Regions from separate parts of the Homo sapiens genome. Here all the other regions are linked to region 1. Evidence: promoter capture Hi-C in 16 types of primary human blood cells and fetal thymus (Javierre and others, 2016). All regions are on one chromosome and are shown on one strand. Each heading gives the region's core, a stretch centred on a gene start or on the middle of the fragment in contact. The rest is flanking DNA. Distances are from core to core; before and after follow the strand shown. Region 1 holds the start of HELQ (helicase, POLQ like). Region 2 overlaps SEC31A (SEC31 homolog A, COPII component). Region 3 overlaps LIN54 (lin-54 DREAM MuvB core complex component). Region 4 overlaps SEC31A (SEC31 homolog A, COPII component).

What was found. Contacts are between HindIII fragments. The CHiCAGO score rates a contact against its expected background, and 5 or more counts as called.
Region 2: a fragment that was not itself captured here is called in contact with the fragment with the promoter of HELQ in region 1 in 2 of 17 cell types (total B cells and non-activated CD4 T cells); the score reaches 6.0 in total B cells.
Region 3: a contact is called between a fragment that was not itself captured here and the fragment with the promoter of HELQ in region 1, in 1 of 17 cell types (total B cells). The highest score is 6.1, in total B cells.
Region 4: a contact is called between a fragment that was not itself captured here and the fragment with the promoter of HELQ in region 1, in 9 of 17 cell types (naive CD8 T cells, activated CD4 T cells, naive CD4 T cells and 6 more). The highest score is 11.4, in naive CD8 T cells.

Annotation. Positions count from the first base shown.
Region 1 is chr4:83,454,407-83,457,106 of GRCh38, reverse strand. It overlaps HELQ (helicase, POLQ like), which reads left to right and starts at 1,284. Exons shown (of 18, transcript NM_133636.5): 1 at 1,284-1,710. The coding sequence starts at 1,414. It overlaps MRPS18C (mitochondrial ribosomal protein S18C), which reads right to left and starts at 1,049. Exons shown (of 6, transcript NM_016067.4): 1 at 930-1,049; 2 at 149-198. The coding sequence starts at 1,029. RefSeq lists enhancers at 997-1,291, 1,278-1,387, 1,728-1,777, 1,206-2,036. The HindIII fragment of the contact is 1,733 bases long and covers 1-1,477 here.
Region 2 is chr4:82,845,161-82,847,860 of GRCh38, reverse strand. All of the region lies in intron 20 of SEC31A (SEC31 homolog A, COPII component), which reads left to right. Among named protein-coding and RNA genes, the nearest start is that of SEC31A, 45 kb to the left of the region's middle. The HindIII fragment of the contact is 1,558 bases long and covers 514-2,071 here.
Region 3 is chr4:82,930,640-82,933,422 of GRCh38, reverse strand. LIN54 (lin-54 DREAM MuvB core complex component) reads left to right here. Exons shown (of 13, transcript NM_194282.4): 12 at 2,278-2,480. Among named protein-coding and RNA genes, the nearest start is that of THAP9-AS1, 31 kb to the right of the region's middle. The HindIII fragment of the contact is 5,681 bases long and covers 1-2,783 here.
Region 4 is chr4:82,879,415-82,882,114 of GRCh38, reverse strand. SEC31A (SEC31 homolog A, COPII component) reads left to right here. Exons shown (of 27, transcript NM_001077207.4): 2 at 175-257; 3 at 1,193-1,316. The coding sequence starts at 179. Among named protein-coding and RNA genes, the nearest start is that of SEC31A, 10 kb to the left of the region's middle. The HindIII fragment of the contact is 2,032 bases long and covers 334-2,365 here.

The sequences.
Region 1 (2,700 bases), core at 35-2,534:
ATTATCAAATTGTTTTGTCCTACGGCAGAACTCTATTCAAGTAGCTAAAATAAAAGATGTTAGAGTCTAATACCAGATCTCGTTTTAAAAAGAAAAACATTTTGGTCATATTTGCAAAGGCCTTACTAATAGAAAAAAAAATTCTTACCAGGTCCTCATTGCTGGATACCTGTTGTGAACAACCTCTTCTCCAAAGCACTGCGATTAAACAGAAACAGCAATTAACCATTTCTTTTTCTTAGCTGAATAGCTAAAGATTTTTGTTTTTATGGAGACAGGATGAATTAAGGGACACGATATTAAAGAAAGGTTTTGTATTATATTCAGAATGGTTAAAAACTTTTATATTTGGGACAGAGTAAGACTCAACATGGGTGTGCTTTCCAGGGCTTAGGGGGAAAAGAACATATTTTCCCGCCCATACCTGCTCTTTCTGACATTTATTTTCCCTTCATTCCATGGTTAGAGAAAATTCTTAATGCAAATTCTTATAGGAGAAGCAACAGAAAGGCACTGTCATACCAAAAAGAAAGTAACAGACCCGTCCCAGAAAGAATTTATAGAGAAGCACAGAGAAGATAAAATTGCAAAAATTATGCAATTTTGTTCTGTTTGGGGACCTTAGACATCTGGAATTTGCTGCTGGGCGACTCTGGAAATGTCCCTTCCTCACTAAGATTATCCAGAGATCTTAGGAAAGTCTCTGCTTTTTAAGAACCACTCCAACTTCCTCATACGTTTAAATACTTTAAAGGAGTGGATTAGACGACACTAAAACAGTCAAAGGCAATTACAGATTCCCACCCATCTTGGAGAAACTTAATCGCCTAGAAACCAGAGTCGTTTTGCTAACAGGGACGACTCTAACCATTAGGACTAAGGTTAATGCCTGCAGCGCTACAATGGAGCATAGGATATGGAGACTTTACCCGTGTGAGTCCCGGGATGTGTAAGGCTGACAGCAGCCGTTACCAAGTGTGTCAACTTCTTCCTCCCTAGACCACCGCAAACAGCAACCACAGCGGCCATGGTTCCGCGTTTCTTCCACTTCCTTTCGTTCCAAATCGTTCCGAAAGGCCCCTTCCGCTGCTCTTCCCCTGTGGGCTCGAGTACCCCGTTCAAAGGTTCCGCAGGAGAACGCTGAGGACCCGCGAGAGTAGGTGAGGTTTTTCAATACGCATGCGCAGCACCTTTCTGTTCGTGCCCTCCCTACGCGGCAGGTCACGTGAGGCTTATGATTGGACAGGGTAGAAGTTTATGCGTGCTTCCGGTCCGCGAGCCCTGAGAGCTAACTTGGGGTCTTTTCCCAAGGTGGATGTAGAAGCGGGCTCCGGCGTCCCACTCTCCCTTCCATATGGGCTTAGCGTCTGGGTCACTGAGAACGACGTCTGAATAGGGCCCTGGGTCCTTGCCATGGATGAATGTGGTTCCCGCATCCGCCGGCGGGTGTCTCTCCCCAAAAGGAACCGTCCAAGCTTGGGGTGTATTTTTGGCGCTCCCACCGCGGCCGAGCTCGTGCCCGGAGATGAGGGGAAAGAGGAGGAGGAAATGGTGGCTGAGAACAGGAGGCGGAAAACCGCGGGCGTACTGCCGGTTGAGGTACAGCCCCTTCTACTCTCAGATTCCCCGGAATGTCTCGTCCTTGGAGGTGGTGATACAAACCCGGACCTCCTACGTCACATGCCCACTGACAGAGGGGTGGGAGACCAGGTACGGAGGACTTGGAACTTGAAACTGCAAACTTTTGGCATCCTTCCCAGATGCAAAGAGTTGACCAGTTTTATCGCCTTCGTTTACTTCTCTCGTCTTCGTTACCACTGTTAATCGGCACTTAGGAGGTATTGATTGCCTTGTTATTTACATTTCTATATAAATATGAAATGTAAACCCCGAGACATAAAAGTTGTGCACGCAGCAGTTAAGTGGCATGACTGAGACACAAATCTAGGCTTCCAGATAACTGCAGCTCCTACTGTACAAATAAAATCTGCTGTTTATTGAAGACCCGTTATGTTAAGCTAGTTATATTATCTAGATTTTACGACAGTAATCAGGCCCTGAAAAGTTGAGATAGTACAGTTCTTGCTCCAAATCCTGTTGTCTTAATCACTTTACTATATTGCTGCCTCCAGGTTTGTGTGTCTTCTGTGTAGCAGACCACTCCAAGTCAGTATTCAGTTTCTCAGTCTCAATTCCAAATTCCTAGGAACTCCTTGGAGTGTCTAGTGGTACAACCATGTTTCTGTTAGAGGCCAGTCACTGTAGATTGTAGTCTGGGAGGGAAGCGCTGCAGTTATCAGAAACTTCGAATGCGCTGACATTTCAGTAGACGTCTACCAGTCTTCCTGCTGTTTTAGTACAGCTTTAAGAATTACAATCTGGCCGTGTGCAGTGGCTCATGCCTATAATCCCAGTGCTTTAGGAGGCAGAGATGGGAGGATCACTTAAGCCCAGAAGTTCGCGTTCAAAACCAGCCTAGGCAACAGAGACCCAGTCTCTACAAAAAAAAAAAAAAATTTTTTTTTCTTAATTAGCCGGGTGTGGTGGCCTGCACCTGTAGTCCTAGCTACTTGGGAGGCTGAGGCAGGAGGATCGCTTGAGCCCAGGATGTCAAGACTGCAGTGAGCTGTGATCGTGCAGTGGCTGGAGCCACTGTGCTCCAGCCTGGGTGACAGAGCCAGACCCTGTCTCAAAAATTAG
Region 2 (2,700 bases), core at 43-2,542, 610 kb after region 1:
CTCTCTATTTTGACTTTTTTCATTCATTTGACAAATATTTTTTTAAGACCCTGCCATGAGTGCCTGGCATTGCTCTGGCTGCTGTGGGGGTATAGTTATGAACAAAACAGAGTAAATTCCCCCCTTCATGGAGATTGCACTAGACTTAGTCTGTGACATAGGTAGGGCAGAACAGATGATGGCTGGGAAAACTGAGAAGCAGAGATGTCAAGCAACCCACCAGAACTGAAGACACAGAGCTTGAATTTCTCAGCGTTGCATGGCTGGTTACCGGCCAAGTTGGGATTAGAACTCCCAAGCGTCTTGTTAAACCAAGCTACCTGTCAGGTACTGAAGCAAGGCAAGCTCTACATTAGGAAAAGAGAATATTTGCTCTTTATGTCCTTAGCTTTTTCTTTCTTGAAAAAGATAAAAACATTGAAAGATTTGTTATACTTTGATTTACCAATCTTACACTTGTAGGAAAAGACAAAGTGAATCGTAAATAAAGCAGTGATTTTCTTGATTAAAGCTTAAGATGTACTGAATGAATGAGGACAGTGGCTTGTGGTTTTAATGCAGTGTTAACAGGCAGAGGCAAGGGGGTGAGAGAGGCCAGATCAGGAGGACTTGCACTTCCACTTTGACCAGCGCAGCTTTGCCTTTACAGTTGACCCTTGAACCATGTGGGTTAGGGGTACCGACCCTGCGTACAGTTGAAAATCTATGACTTCACTCCCCAGAACTTAACCCCTAAAATTAGCGTGCTGTTGACTGGCAGCCTTGCTGATAACATGAACAGTCCATTAACACACAATTTATATGTTGTATTTATTATATACCGTATTCTTAACAATGAAGTAAGCAGGCCAGGCGCGGTGGCTCACGCCTGTAATCCCTGTACGTTAGGAGGCCAAGGCAGGTGAATCCCCTGAGGTCAGGAGTTCGAGACCAGCCTGGCCAACATGATGAAACCCTGTCTCTACTAAAAATACAAAAAATTAGCTGGCATGGTGGCGCATGCCTGTAATCCCAGCTACTCAGGAAGCTGAGGCAGGAGAATCGCTTGAACCCGGGAGGCGGAGGTTGCAGTGAGCTGAGATCACGCCATTGCACTCCAGCCTGAACAACAAGAGCAAAAAACTCTGTCTCAAAACAAACAAACAAAAAAATAATGAAGTAAGCTAGAAAAAAGAAAATGTAATTAAGGAAATCATAAGGAAGAGAAAATATATTTACTATTCATCATTAATATTCATCATTAAGTGGAAGTAGTCTTCCTTCTTGTCATCACATTGAATATGCTGAAGAGGAGGGGTTGGTCTTGATGTCTCAGGGATGGCAGAGGGAGAAAAGGTGGAGGAGGTGGAAGGGGAGGCAGGAGAGTCAGGCACACTCAGTGTAACTTCTATTGAAAAAAATTCACATCTAAGTGGACCCATGCAGTTGAAACCCATGTTATTCAAGAGTCAATTGTATTATTATTATTATTATTATTATTATTATTATTATTATGTTTTGGAGTTTCTGCAAAGATTTACTTGACAAAAAGGATTTTGATGGCTTAAAAAAACAAACAGGCCGGGCGTGGTGGCTCACGCCTGTAATCCCAGCACTTTGGGAGGCTGAGGCGGGCGGATCACGAGGTCAGGAGATCGAGACCAGCCTGGCTAACACAGTGAAACCCCGTCTCTACTAAAAATACTAAAAATTAGCTGGGCATGGTGGCAGGCGCCTGTAGTCCCAGCTACTCAGGAGGCTGAGGCAGGAGAATGGCATGAACCTGGGAGGCGGAGTTTGCAGTGAGCTGAGATCGCACCACTGCACTTCAGCCTAGCGACAGAGTGAGACTCCACTCCGTCTCGGAAAAACAAACAAACAAACAAACAAAAAAACAATGGCCTCTAGGGCAAGCAACATGGTGTAGTATAGAAAACACTGGCCTGGAAATCAGGTGACTTGGAATCACCATTGAGTTGTACGGTCCCTTCACTTCTCTGGGCCTTGGTTTTGTCAGCAATAAAGGGTGGGGATTAGACTGGAAGATCTTTAATATTCAGCTTTAATACTCTGATTGTATGAGTTTTAAGCTTCATATTGGACTGATATGACTTTTGTGGCTGTAATGAAATCCAGAAAAGAGAGCTTATACCACTGTGTTTGTAGATTAGTAGTAGCTTGAATACTATTAATGCTTCCAAAAAAAAAATCACTTTTTTACTCAATTACTTTTTTTTTTCCTGGAATGTCTTTTTTCCTTCTCTACTTACAAAGCCTCACTTTACCCACTTATAATTGACACTTGAATGGCATTGTTCTTGTGCTTTGATTTAGGTTTTCATATTGATTTTTCTCCTGCCTTCCTCTCCCTGTTTCATTGTGATTGTGTGGTTTTTGTTGTTGTTGTTTTGTTTTGTTTTTTTGGGAATTCCAGCTACCTTGAAAGCAGTTGCCTGACTAATGTATGTTATCTTGCCAATCTTACCTTTGGCTTTGCATCTGGCTATTAATACCTTTTGGGGTTTTTTTCTTCTTTTAACGTTTTCATTTTTTATTTTCTGTGATTGGTATTTCTTTGTTCAATTCAGGTTAGAATTGCCCCTACTGTCACTACCTGGAGTAACAAAACTCCTACTGCCCTTCCCAGCCATCCACCTGCAGCCTCTCCCTCTGACACACAGGTATATCCTTCATTATTCCTCTTTGAGCAGAATTCTGCTC
Region 3 (2,783 bases), core at 119-2,618, 520 kb after region 1:
TTCTTGTGACCATTTTCCTCCCCTCCACATCTTTTTTTTTTTTGGTATAGGGGAAGTTAAATTCGCCAAGCTAAATGTCATTGTAATTTCTCCATCTGAGCTCCGGTTAGACACTATTAATGTCTTTCCTATGGTTCTTAAAATATAAAGATAATTTTTAAAAAACAAATATATATATATATATAAAATCTAAATTACCATTATTGGTATGTTTTCCCCACTCTGAGGTCAGGAATTTTCTCTCGTCATCACTAGATGCTTATTAAGTATTGCTTTAGTTAGATTCCCATTCAGGCTCACAGTAACCCAGTTAACACAAACTTACATCCATTTTTTCCTTTGGTAAGTGGAATTTATTGGTGTCTTATAAGAAAGGAGCAGAGTAAATGTGTTTATAATGCAGCCCGTTTATCTTGCTAGGTGCTATAGAGAGAAAGGACAGTTTTATTTATTTATATAGACATGGGTTCATTGAAGAAAACACAGCTAACAAAAACATACTCAAATTCGTTAGAAATCAGGGAAATATACATTAAAGAACAGTGAAATCTCACTTTATCATCCCCACCATCAGATTATATATATATATATTTTTTTGAGATGGTGTTTCATTCTTATTGCCTAGGCTGGAGTGCAATCGCGTGATCGCGGCTCACTGCAACCTCCGCCTCCCGGGTTCAAGCGATTCTCCTGCCTCAGCCTCTCGAGTAGCTGAGATTACAGGCATGTGCCACCATGCCTGGCTAATTTTTTTTTTTTTTTTTTAAAGAGAGATGGGGTTTCTCCATGTTGGTCAGGCTGGTCTTGAACTCCGGACCTCAGGTGATCCTCCCACCTCGGCCTCCCAAAGTGCTGGGATTTCAGGCGTGAGCCACCGCGCCTGGCATAAAATGTTAAAAGGAATTATAATATTCATTGTTGGAGGGAATGTGGGAAAGCCTTCCTTTACACATTGCTGATGAGATGTGAGGTATTACAGCCTTTTGAAAAAGCAATCTGGCTACATCTCTTAAAATTCAAATACACAGGCCAGGCGCGGTGGCTCACATCTGTAATCCCAGCACTTTGGGAGGCCGAGGCGGGTGAATCACGAGGTCAGGAGGTCGGGACCATCCTGGCTAACACGGTGAAACCCCGTCTCTACTAAAAATACAAAAAAAATTAGCCGGGCGTGGTGGCGGGTGCCTGTAGTCCCAGCTACTCGGGAGGCTGAGGCAAGAGAATGGCGTGAACCTGGGAGGCGGAGCTTGCAGTGAGCTGAGATCGCGCCACTGCACTCCAGCCTGGGAGACAGAGCGAGACTCCATCTCAAAAAAAAAAAAAAAAAAAATTAAAATACACAGACCTGTTAACCAGTGAGCCCAATTCTAGAAATCTAACTCAGAGAAATAAAAAGGCATAATGTATAACAAAAAAGTCTTTTTATGCATCATTTGTGGTACCCAAGAACTGGAAACAAAAATAAACACCCATCAATAGGGAAATGAATGCCCAATAAAATTGACACATCATACCAGGGATTTACACCTAGCTGTTAAATAGAATGAATTCAAGCTATGCCAGATGACTTTGGAGGGATTCCATGAGTTGTAAGAAAAGCAAGATGCAGAAAAGCAGATAATATGATTTTGAAAAACTAAAAAATGAAAGTTCTATATTTGTATATACATAAGGTCTAGGATTTTATATATACTTACATTTGACATATTTTTACATGAAAATATATATTTATATGAAATGTAAAATACACACTAGTTTCATATGGGTTATTGAAGGGTTTGGGGAATCTGAAGTCCCTCCCGAACTCCCTCTTCAGATTAAAAATAGCATAATAGAATAATAAAAATGGCATCTGTGAAATCCCTTTAATGTGAAATTGTATACATATGCATAAATGGGAGGTCATCTATATGTTAATGATGATTTGATTGAGGTGGCTGGATTCTGGATGACCTTTATTTTTGATATTTTAGGATATCATTCATGTTTATGAAAAACATGTGTAACTCATATCTGAAGAAAATCTATATTCATAGTGGGGGAAAACTGACATGGAAGGACACAGCCACAAACGTTGTACAGCCACTGTCAGACTTAAGAATACCTAACCTAGCTAGCCACATGTGTAGTTACTGTTTGTCAGCCAGAGATACTTCCATCTAATCTTATTATCAGTTGACCAGGTAATGCTATTAGCTGTTGATTTGATTGTGGCATCTACTTATAGTAATGTATTTTGGTTTTGATTTGGAAACTTTTCTTATGTAAATCTTTTAGGCAAAAATAATGTGTTCCTCAATATGCAAATGTATTGGCTGTAAGAATTTTGAAGAAAGCCCGGAAAGGAAGACATTGATGCATTTGGCAGATGCAGCTGAAGTAAGGGTACAGCAACAAACAGCAGCCAAGACGAAGTTATCCTCTCAAATTTCAGACTTGCTTACTAGGCCAACACCAGCTTTAAATAGTGGAGGCGGAAAGTAAGTCAGTATTTTAATCTTTTTATAGTACTTCCCAAATACTTTTGGTAAAGTTTCTTTTCAGGGGGCAAAGTTGAGTTTATATTTTTGGTTGTTGCAAACCTGATTTTTGTGTTTTCTTTCCATCTTTAGTTACTTGTAAAGGAATTTAAAGGTAACAGAAACCACTGTCAGATTATTGTGCAGTTCGAAAATGCACAGTAATGATTTAGTCCACTGTGCTTAATTTCTGTCTACTAAGATGAGGTAATTATGTAATTTGAGGAACCCCAAAGAAAAGCAGATGTTCATATGTCTCGCTGA
Region 4 (2,700 bases), core at 100-2,599, 580 kb after region 1:
TCTTTCTAATGAATATATCCAACAAATGACACCTAAACCGATTTGATTTATTTGCAGTTGGGCATTACTAATGTTGTAGTGGTTTGTTCAGTATGTTTCTATTTAAAATATCTGTGTTCTGTGTTAGACATTCAAGTCATTCAAGGCTGTTTCTGTATAAAATATTCCCTTTAGCAGGATGAAGTTAAAGGAAGTAGATCGTACAGCCATGCAGGCATGGAGCCCTGCCCAGAATCACCCCATTTACCTAGCAACAGGTAAGTTCAAAGGAGAGAAGATAGTATGAGTTACCTAATTTCTTCTCTTCTGCACCTAGCTTATTCAGTTTAAGCTTTATCTTCTCTAGAAAGCCTCTCTCTCCCTGGCAAGTTACTGACATTCTATCAGCCAAGTTTAGTGTTCTTCCTCTGTGTTCCCATAGCATTTTGATCATGATGTGTTACATCTAAAATATTTTCCTTCACAGGAATTGTATTTTATCTTTATTCCTCCAGTATTAAGCACAATAGATGGCATGTAAAAAAAACAGTTAATATCAGTTTGAATGAATGAAGAGCAATTTTGATGTTAGCATTTTTATATAAAAAGAAATAGTTATATCATATATGTCTATAAGCAGATATAGTAAATCACGGGACTTTTTTTTTTTTGAGATGGAGTCTTGCTCTTTCGCCCAGCCTGGAATGCAGTGGCGTGATCTCTGCTCACTGCAAGCTCCACCTCCCTGGTTCCTTCCATTCTCCTGCCTCAGCCTCCCAAGTAGCTGGGACTACAGGCGTCCACCACCATGCCTGGCTAATTTTTTGTATTTTTAGTAGAGATGGGATTTCACCATGTTAGCCAGGATGGTCTTGATCTCCTGACCTCATGATCCACCCATCTCGGCCTCCCAAAGTGCTGGGATTACAGGCATGAGCCACCGTGCCCAGCCCCCATCACGGGACCATTTTTACAGAGATTTTTAAATATATACAGGCTTAAAAAATTATTTACACTACCCACTCTTATAAACATCCTCTCCTAGCCCTGTGCCAGAATCTCATTGCTATAGTAATTTAAGCATCTGCTCAATGGCATATGTGCAGCATTCATGAGCAAGAGAATGGAAAACATGCTTTTAACTTCTGTTTTGTATGGTTTCTCTGATCTTTTATTTTTGTGTGTATAGTTACCATAAATATATTTTCTATAGGAACATCTGCTCAGCAATTGGATGCAACATTTAGTACGAATGCTTCCCTTGAGATATTTGAATTAGACCTCTCTGATCCATCCTTGGATATGAAATCTTGTGCCACATTCTCCTCTTCTCACAGGTATGAGGTTCAGCTTTAAATTCATGTGATTATTTAATTATATATTGTTCTTGATTCCTAATTTGTCTATAATTATGCCATTATTAGAAACTACAAGGAATACCATCAAGAACATGAAATATTTTGTGAAAAAGCATGTGAGTGAATTTTTATGGAAGTAAAAGTAGTGTTTATGTGTTCTATTGACTTTTTTTTTTCTTTTTTTTTTTTGAGACAGAATCTTACTTCATAGCTCAGGCTGGAGTGCAGTGGCACGATCTCGGCTCACTGCAACCTCCACCTTCCAGGCTCAAGCAATTCTTGTGCCTCAGCCTCCCGAGTAGCTGGGATTACAGGTGCACACCACCTTGCCCAGCTAATTTTGTGTCTTTAGTAGCGACAGGGTTTTGCCATGTTGGCCAGGCTGGTTTTGAACTCTTGACCTCAAGCAATCCACCCACCTTAGCCTCCCAAAGTGCTGAGATTATAGGCATGAGGAATCACGCTTGGCCAGTATGTTCTGTTGGCTTTTTTATTGCTGTTACATGTAAGGTAGGAAGGAGAGGCTGTAGTTTCTAGCATTTTTTTCTGTTTTTTTGGTGTGTGTGTGGTTTTTTTTGTTTTTGTTTTTTTTTTGAGATGGAGTTTCACTCTTGTTGCCCAGGCTGGAGTGCAATGGCGCAATCTCGGCTCACCACAACCTCTGCCTCCTAGGTTCTAGCAATTCTCCTGCCTCAGCCTCCCGAGTAGCTGGGATTACAGGCATGTGCCACCATGCCTGGCTAATTTTGTATAGAGTTCTTTTTTCTATCTCCTTTATTGTGCCTGTTTACAAAAAGGTAGATGTGACTAGAAAAGGAGTAGTCATCGTAAGTATTAATAGTGATTATCTCTGAATGGTAGCTTATTTTTATTTTCTTCTGTTACGATATTTAGAAATATATCTCACAGTTTTGTTGACACGATTTCTAATACACTAGGTAACTAGGTATTTGGATCATACTTTCAAGTACTTATGCCCTATTGTAATGCAGAGAAAGGAGGTCTTCATTTCAGTAATAAAATAAGCTTTATTGCCTCAATATATTAGCAGGGTTTAAAGAGATTGCTCTTTAGCTGACAGAATATAGCTCAAATCATGCAGTTTCATGGGACCGCTCATATTCTTCAGAGCTGTCACAGTGGGATGGGAACCCCAGATACCTTTTGTCTAGTAGTTTTTCTGCTTACTACCATCTGTATCATCGTATACCTTTCTGCCTTCATATTTCATCTCCATTCTGGACCATATATTTTATTCTCTAATAGTAGGGGTACTTGTTATAATCTTGATGTCATTTTTCTACCATTAGAATACATTCTTTTTCTTAGAAAATTTCACATGACTCCTTTAACACCTTTACTA